Regions from separate parts of the Homo sapiens genome. Here region 1 is linked to region 2. Evidence: promoter capture Hi-C in human tissues and cell types (Jung and others, 2019). All regions are on one chromosome and are shown on one strand. Each heading gives the region's core, a stretch centred on a gene start or on the middle of the fragment in contact. The rest is flanking DNA. Distances are from core to core; before and after follow the strand shown.

Evidence for each region. The method cuts DNA at HindIII sites, captures the fragments that hold promoters and counts their contacts. A contact is called where the count stands out against the background at its distance.
Region 1: a contact is called between a fragment that was not itself captured here and the fragment with the promoter of CDR2L in region 2, in 1 of the 25 tissues and cell types used here (spleen).

The regions. Positions count from the first base shown.
Region 1 is chr17:75,389,506-75,393,957 of GRCh38, reverse strand. GRB2 (growth factor receptor bound protein 2) reads left to right here. Exons shown (of 6, transcript NM_002086.5): 2 at 193-407. The coding sequence starts at 330. Among named protein-coding and RNA genes, the nearest start is that of GRB2, 14 kb to the left of the region's middle. The HindIII fragment of the contact is 6,103 bases long and covers 1-4,452 here.
Region 2 is chr17:74,986,005-74,990,185 of GRCh38, reverse strand. CDR2L (cerebellar degeneration related protein 2 like) reads right to left here and starts at 2,554. Exons shown (of 5, transcript NM_014603.3): 1 at 2,064-2,554. The coding sequence starts at 2,142. RefSeq lists silencers at 2,459-2,548, 2,569-2,648 and an enhancer at 2,215-2,716. The HindIII fragment of the contact is 16,458 bases long and covers 1-4,181 here.

The DNA of each region.
Region 1 (4,452 bases), core at 956-3,455, 400 kb before region 2:
TGTCAGTCGCCTGGGGGCCGAGGCTGAAAAGAGGAAGAAGTCGGCGGGGGGGGGCTGTTGCCTGGAAGGGAGGGAGGAGGGCTGAGCCAGGCCGAGCCAGGGGGCGTGGGGGCTGGGACAGCAGGCCGATTGGCAGGGCGGGGTTGCCTTCAATCCTGGCCACTGCTCTTAATCGTCCCTCTCCTGCTTCAGGGTGGCATTGTGTGTCCCAGAGTGCCGGAGCGAGTCCCAGAAGAGAGGCGAGGCTAAGCCCAGAGCGCTGGGTTGCTTCAGCAGGGAAGACTCCCTTCCCCCTGCTTCAGGCTGCTGAGCACTGAGCAGCGCTCAGAATGGAAGCCATCGCCAAATATGACTTCAAAGCTACTGCAGACGACGAGCTGAGCTTCAAAAGGGGGGACATCCTCAAGGTAAGTGCTGATGCCGAGCACAATGCTGAGATCGCTCTCCCTGTGCTCACCCACCTTCTTTCGCCCTGATTACACACAAAGAAGCTGTGTTTTTCATTGTACACTTTTAACATTTACCATCATATTTGTTCTGGAGAGCTTTAGATGCTGAGTAGAATATTAAATATGACTTAAGTGAGTTGGTGTGATGTGTGGTGTTTAACTGCCTTTGTGTGAATGCCTCATTTGTCTGTTGATACTGGTAATATTTCAAGTAAAGTCAAAGTAATGTGATTGTAGAAAGGAAGTATATGAGTAGATTGATTTGCCCTGTAGAGTTTTATTTTAAAAATAGCATTTTTTAAAAAGACCCAGACCTGAAGTATTTATGTAAAAGCATTCAGTTAGTCTTACTTTGTATAGCCAAAGGATTTTGCGTTCTGGAATATGATTTTGGTAGGTTAGAAATTAATTTTCCCAGTTTAGAGAGGTTGTTAGAAGTACATACCAAAACTCATTAAAGAACTTCAGTGTATTTTTATTCTTTGTGAAAAAACAAATGGAGTTCTAAATAATAAGGTGCAACCTGCTATTGTACAAGTCAGATTTCGACTTTCTTAAAAGAAACTTGAGGAGCAATTACCCCATATTAAACTCTAATTGCACGAAAAGAAACCTGCTGACAGTTTAAAAATCAGCTTCTATACCATGTGCAGCTTATTTTGAGCCCCACTATTTATGTGAGGATTCGCTCTCCCCCAGCACATGTTAATTATGTTGTTTACCCAATTGACTGTAGCAGTTTGCTCTTTTGGATGTGTAATTTATTTTAACGAGGATGAGTGTTATCAAAGAGTATGTTAACTTTAAAGGAGGAAAGGCTGAAGCTTCATGTTTGAGTGTTCCCTGTGTCTCAAGTTTTGACATTTTTCCTTCTGAGCCTTAGACTGATTGTTGGAATTTGCTACCTCATTTGTTTACTACCCCTGAATGAAATTCTTAGAATTTTATGAAGAGAAAGCAAGTGGAGATGTAGAAATATGGTTCTTTATAAAAGGACGTGCAGTCTTTTTACTTTTAAGTTATGTGGACTTATTGATAGTCTTTATTTTGCCCTCATTGCCCAAGGCGTAGAGTTCTACTCTGAAGTTAACTGCCCAGTAATTTCTTAATGTTAGAAATGTAGGTTGAGCCTCATAGAAGATGATGCTGCAGAGCCCTTTAAAGAGAAGAAAACTTTGTGTCTGTGTGTTCATTTCAAAGCTGTGTTTGTGACACCACACTTTTCGAGGGTATTCTCAAAGTCAACACTAAATTGTCAGAAAGCAGACGGAACCATTTTCTAGAAACTAGGTTTCTATTTTCTTGAACTAGAGAAAATATGCCCAGCTAGAGATCAGGGCAAAGTTAACTTAGACTACAAAATTCCTCAGTTTTCATTGGTGTATGGGAGAGGTAATTTGATGTTTCTGTAGGTGATTACTGTTTTCTGTAGATAACCCACTTGTGATGGTATAAGATGGGCTACTCAAATGCCCACATCTATAGCCTGTACAAAAGCCCTTTTGGGCTAGTATTTTTTGTTTTTGATACAAACTTAGATTTTTTCATAAGTTTATCTTAGAAACTTGAACCTAGAAGGCTGGTGGTTCATATTTTTCTCTAAATCTGTCCCATTGCACATTAAGCACTGAAGCAACAAATTAAAACAAAACTAGGGGCATGCGGTCTCTTTTTAAGAATTTTTTTTTTTTTTTTTTTTTTGAGATGGAGTCTCGCTCTGTCACCCAGGCTGGAGTGCGGTGGTACAATCTGGGCTCACCGCAAGCTCCACCTCCCAGGTTCATGCCATTCTCCTGCCTCAGCCTCCCGAGTAGCCGGGACTACAGGCGCCCGCCACCACGCCCGGCTAATTTTTTGAATTTTTAGTGGAGATGGGATTTCACCATGTTAGCCAGGATGATCTCAATCTCCTGACCTCGTGATCTGCCCACCTCGGCCTCCCAAAGTGCTGGGATTACAGGCGTGAGCTACTGCACCCAGCCTTTTTTTAAAATTTTTAAACAAGAACTTTCCCTGATTTCTGTCTTTGAAGTTTGTCCTAGACCTAGACCATGAACATTTTATAAATTCTTTAACTTAAATTAGTAAATTCTGGAGCAAGTGTAAAAACCTTCTTTCCCATCCTATTATTAGGGAAGAAGATCCTGTTTAACAGTCCCTCAGAAATTTTTATTATGGAGGAGAAAGTAAATCAGAATACTCACATTCACTTTTAGATTTTCTTTGAGGAGAGAGAAAAATACATATATGTGGTTCTTTTCAATTTGGTAGATAACTGAGATATGAAGTCATAATGCCATTATTGCTTTTGAACGGTGGCCATTAGCTGTTTGTTGGTAATGTTGTGGCTTTACTCCAAAAGAAAAAAAAAAGAGTGACGATACAGTAGTTGCCCTTTGTCTCATAACTGTGTGAAATGGCTGGGTGAAGAGGAGGAACATGCTTTCTTAAAAGCTGTTAGTTAAAAAAACGGAGTTTTCCTCATTTGATTCTTCAAGAAGTAAACTGGCTTCATTTGAATTGCTTTGATTTGGGACGTCTTGAGGGTATTAGTTGTAAGCCAAAACATGTTTTAAAAGTTGCTGGAATAGCATTGAACAATTTAACTTTCATTGAAATAGGCATATATATGCCTTCTCTTGATAAAGGAGACGTGCATATGGATATTGAATAAGTTTCATTTCAAGATAATGAAATAGGCACTTAGCCTTCATCCTCTGTCTATAGTTCAGAAGGATCACATCTTCTCCTGTCTTGGAGTTCCTGGTTAACTTTTAGTTAAAAATGGTGACTCCTCTCCTCCAGCAGACCCCTTCCCTACTTTCTGTCTACACATTGACCTGTTACTGTCCAGAGAAAAAGAGGAAAAAATAAAAGCATTTTACTGGAAGCCTAAAATAGAGTTGAATGGTTCAATATGTCTGCCTTTGTTTCTCTCTCTTATAAAAGCTTGTGTTTTTCTTGGCTCGGGGAGGGAGAGGACACTGGGATGTAAAATAGAAGGAATTGCCCTTCCACTGCAGGTTTCAGGCCTGGTGTGGTTGGAATACATCAGAATTCCTCCCACCATTGTAGGGCAGGCTTGAGACAGTCCCAGAGGTTCTCCACTGACAAGACCCCTAAATAGTCTACACTAGAGCACATAAAACTTACCTAGGAGTTGCAACTGCCATTTAGGGGCTTATGTATACATACTTCAAACTGTGCTTATAGGAATTAAGAGACCCATTTTGAGCTCTCAGATCTGTGCTCATTCCATTCTAGAGCCAGCCTCTTGCTTTCTTCAGCTCTAGTGGAGAGCCAGCCTGGATCATCTAGGTGTATTCTACCCTCTCTGGCACTAACTACCTTTACCAGTTTCTTAAACTACTTTAAAAACAGGTCTTGAGTTCACATTGAGATCTTCAAAGCATTCTGTCTCAGCACTGCCTGGCCTATTTCAGTGTCACACTGACTGAGCATCTCTTGAGCCAGATACTGGGATAAGTTGCTTTGAGAGTTGGGAGAGAAATATAAGATGTACTTTCTCCCTTCAGAAGCTCCAAAATCTCAAGTAAGAGAATTGAGATTAATATGTGAAACAGTACAAGATGGTATATAAAAATTTTTTTAGAACAGGAAAAGATCTTTTAAAATTTATTTTTATTTATTTTTTTATTTTTTTGAGATGGAGTCTCGCTCTGTCACCCAGGCTGGAGTGCAGTGGCGCGATCTCGGCTCACTGCAAGCTCTGCCTCCCGGGTTCACGCCATTCTCCTGCCTCAGCCTCCCAGTAGCTGGGACTACAGGCACCCACCAGCACGCCCGGCTAATTTTTTGTATTTTTAGTAGAGACGGGGTTTCACCATGTTAGCCAGGATGGTCTCGATCTCCTGACCTGGTGATCCGCCCGTCTCGGCCTCCCAAAGTGCTGGGATTACAGGCGTGAGCCACCGCGCCCGGCAAGATCTTTTAAAATTTCTTAAGTTAGACTTACTCTTTTACAGATGAGGAAATGGTGGCC
Region 2 (4,181 bases), core at 1,305-3,804:
CTTCTCTCTCTCAAGAAGCTGCACATCTCTGCGCATCTCCCACCTCTATGCCCTGGCTCCTTTCCCATTTCTGGGCCAGGAACAGTGCCAAAGCCTTCATTAGGGGTGCAGGAATTAAGTGAGACAGCAACAATATTGGCATCGGCCTCCCTGAAAACCATCTTCTCAAGAACTCAGTTTCTGATCTTTCTTTCTAAGCCTGGCTCTTCCAGGAAGCCCTCCCCACTGCCCATAATACTGTGCCACCAGCCGGGCGTGGTGGCTCACGCCTGTAATCCCAGCACTTCGGGAGGCCAAGGCGGGTGGATCATCTGAGGTCAGGAGTTTGAGAGCAGCCTGGCCAACATGGTGAAACCCTGTCTCTACTAAAAATACAAAAATTAGCCAGGTGTGGTCCCAGCTACTCAGGAGGCTGAGGCAGGAGAATCACTTGAACCCGGGAGATGGAGGTTGCAGTGAGCTGAGATCGCACCATTACACTCCAACCTGGGTGACAGAGGGAGACTCTGTCTGAAAATAAATAAATAAATAAATAAAAAGAAAAAAGAAAAAAATACTGTGCCACCTACACTTAGTTACAAGCCTGCCTCCTTCACCTGCCAGGGTATACCTTCAGGGTCAGGGCTGTGACTATTCCTAGCTCCCAGGATGGTGTCTGGTACTTAAGGGGAGCCTAATAGGTGTTCATGGAAAAATTTACTGCCCAGGATGGGAGAGGGGGTTGTCACAATGTGTGGATGTGTGTGTGTGTGTGTGTGTGTGTGTGTGTGTGTGTTTGAGAGGAGCTGTATCTCATTTCAGCCAAGGAGGCTGAGGCCAGAGTCCAGGGCACAGACCATGGCAGGGCCTAGTCCAGCATCCCCAGTCCCACCCTGGTCCCCCTGAGGCTATGATTAACCCTTGTCCTCAGCACAAGGACAGAGCCTCATCTGCCAGCCAGTCTTGGCCATGTGGGGAAGTAGGTCAGGGGCTTCAGAATCCGGATAGCTGCTGCACATCAGGGCAAAGCCAGCCCTCTGGAGCCTTGTGGATGGAGACCAGGGTGTGGGCACACCACAGCAGGCCACAATGGCACAAACTGCAGCAGACTTATGTCCACACCCCCCAGCTTGCTGGAGGCCATGGGAAGGTCACTTCTCCCTGGACATGTTTCCTCGCCCCTTCCAGCTCTCACCATCCAAGAAGGAGGCATCTTAGGGGAGGAGAGGATAGAACTGACTCCACTCCAGCAGGCCTCCTCTTCCTTTCTGTCCCAACAGCCCCACCCCCCACTCCCAGTGATGTCATTTCGGCCACCTCATCACCAGCTTCTAACCCCCTTCCAGTCGCCCTTTCTGTCCTCAGATGGCAACTGGGGGCAGCGGAGATGTATCCCTCTTTATTCGGTCTCTCGCCTGGCACACTGGCCGGGATTCCCGAACCTGACCCCCTCCAAACCATGAGCCATTTGCAAGGGGACCGGGCAGGGGAGGGCTAAGCGACTCCTGACTCTCGAAGGCAGATGGGAGACTTGACTTTCTGCTTCTTCACCAGCAAAGACGCGGTACCACTTCTCCCTGAGTAGGAAGCGAGTTAGGGAAACTTTCTAGGAGTCTTAGAGCTCATAATTCCTGTCAGGGACGGGTGCTGCTGGATTTGGCGTGAGATAACTTCCCTCTACACACAAGCCACCCTCCCAGCAAAACATGACGAAGGAGCCGCCTCCCGGCCTCAGAAGACTCCTAGCTAGCGCTCAGGCCCCGTAACAATACCAGGGGCGGCCGAGCAGTTGCTGCCTCCAGGACGGGGTGGGCGAGCTGGATGACGGATGCCCGGTCGTCTGGGAAAATAGGAAGACCGCCCCCCGCCCCCCACTTTTGCAGGTCTCCGCCCGTCCGGTCCGCGTCTTCTCCGGCAGCGCCCCCTCTCTCCACGTCCCGGTTCTCCAGACGCGTCCCTCCTCCGAGTCGGGCGCGCCCGGTCCAGCCCAGCCCCTCCCGGGGTGATAGCGCCCAACAATGGAGAAGCGGACAGGGGTCACCGGGCGCTCCCCGCCTTCCTGTCCCGGTCGCCCCCGCGCTCACCCTGCTCCAGGTCCTGCTGGTCGTACCAGGACTCCTCTTCCTCCGCGGAGAAGTCCTCCATCCCGGCGGCTCTCCGCATGGCCCCGCGGGCGGCGGGCGGGTGCTGCGGCGGCGCAGCTCAGGGCCGGTGCGCGCGGCCCGGGACAATGCGGCTGAGGCGGGCCGGGCCTCCAGCGTCGGGAACTCGGGCTACAGAGCCCGCGCCGCGCCCCCTCGCCATCAACCGCTCGCCGGGAGCCCACGCGGGGCCTGGCGCTTTGCCAGGGTCCGGCCCGGCCGGGGTCCCGCAGAGCCGGGGGCACCGGGCTGCGGCGACACAAAGGGTGGAGTGGCAGGGACGGCGGGTGGGACAGTGGCAAGGAGGATCCGGGCCCGCAGGCGGGTCTGGGGCGCTAGGAGCGCGCGGGTGCCGTGGCGGGCGCCCCCTGCCCGGCTCGGGTCCGCGCTGCTCCTGGCCCGCCCGGCGACAACCGGAGCCGCCGCTGCATCTTGGCGGAGCCCGCCTGCAGCTTGCGGAGCTCGGCTCCGCGGGGTGGGGCCTGCCGCCGCCGACCAATCAGGAGATGTATGCAAAGCTGGAGGCGGGGCCGAGGGCGGGACCCTCCTGGTGTCTTGGTCTGGGAATTGCTTGATCAACCCTTTCGTCCTACTTCCCCCTACGACCTATTCAGTTTATGTCTCATGTCTAAAATTATGCTATTTTAGAAGTTGTCGTCTCTCCTAGATCTCCTGGAAGCAAGAATATTGTTTCTCTTTCACAGCTGGCTACTCACTTCCTAGAACAGGCTGCTCACCAGTCGGGCGCGATGCCTGACTCCTGTAATTCCAGCACCTTGGGAGGCCAAGGCGGGCAGATCGCCTGAGGTCAGGGGTTTCGAGACCAGCCTGGCCAACATGGCGAAACCCCGTCTCCATTAAAAATACAAAAATTAGCTGGGCATGGTGGCGCATGCCTACTCGGGAGGCTGAGGCAGGAGAATCGCTTGAACCCTGGAGGCAGAGGTTGCAGTGAGCCAAGATAGCGCCACTGCACTCCAGCCTGGGCGACAGAGGGAGACTCTGCCTCAAAAAACAAACAAACAAAAAACAAACAACATGCTGGTCATTGATACCTTCCATCGACATTCTTTGAATGAATGAATACTAATTTACAGTTGCCTTTGGGAACTGCGTGTTTAAGTGCTTGTGGCTAGAAACCACAGGCTGAAAGTGGCAAAGTTTGAGGGTGTGTTACCTGCATTCAAGGTTCTGTTTTCCTTTCCTTGGGACCCATATCCTATATCCAATTATACCCATTAAAACTATACACACTTGCATCTGTCCAAGCATTCTTTCCTTAGAAGAGTGTTCGGACTCAAGCATTCACGTAACTCATTTTTATTGGGACCCTAATGTGCTGGTGCCGTTGAGAATCTCTGAATAATGTTGTGATATACCCAACGAATGACTTGTATCCAGAATACAGAAAGAACATCTGCATAGTCATAAGAAAAAGGCACGCAACCCAGTAGAAAAGTGGGTAAAAGATTTGACCAGGTAATTCACAAAAAAGGATACACAAATAACTGAATAAATATGCAACAAGGTACTGAACTTCTTTAGCCATCAGAAAAATGCAAATGAAAACCACAATGAGGTATCACTACCCAATCACCAGAGTGGCTTTAGGGAAAAAAAAAAAAAAAAAAAAGGCCAGGCGTGGTGGTTCATGCCTATAATCCCAGAACTCTGGGGAGGCCGAGGTTGGGAGGATCACTTGAGCCTGGAGTTCAAGAGCAGCCTGGGCAACATAGCAAGATCCTATTTCTATAAAAAAATTTAAAAATAAAAATTAGGTGGGCATAATGACACACGGCTGTAGTCCCAGATACTTTGGGAGGCTGAGGTGGGAGAATTGCTTGAGTCTAGGAGGTTGAGGCTGTAGGGAGCTGTGGTCATGCCACTGCACTCCAGCCTGGGTGACAGAGCAAGATCCTGTCTCAAAAAAAAAAAAAAAAAAAAAAAAAAAAAGACAAAAAATACCTAGTATTGGCAAGAATGTTGAGCAACTGGAACTCTCTCACCCTGCTGGAGGGAATACATAGGACGACAACCACTTTAGAAAACTGCCCGGGCGTG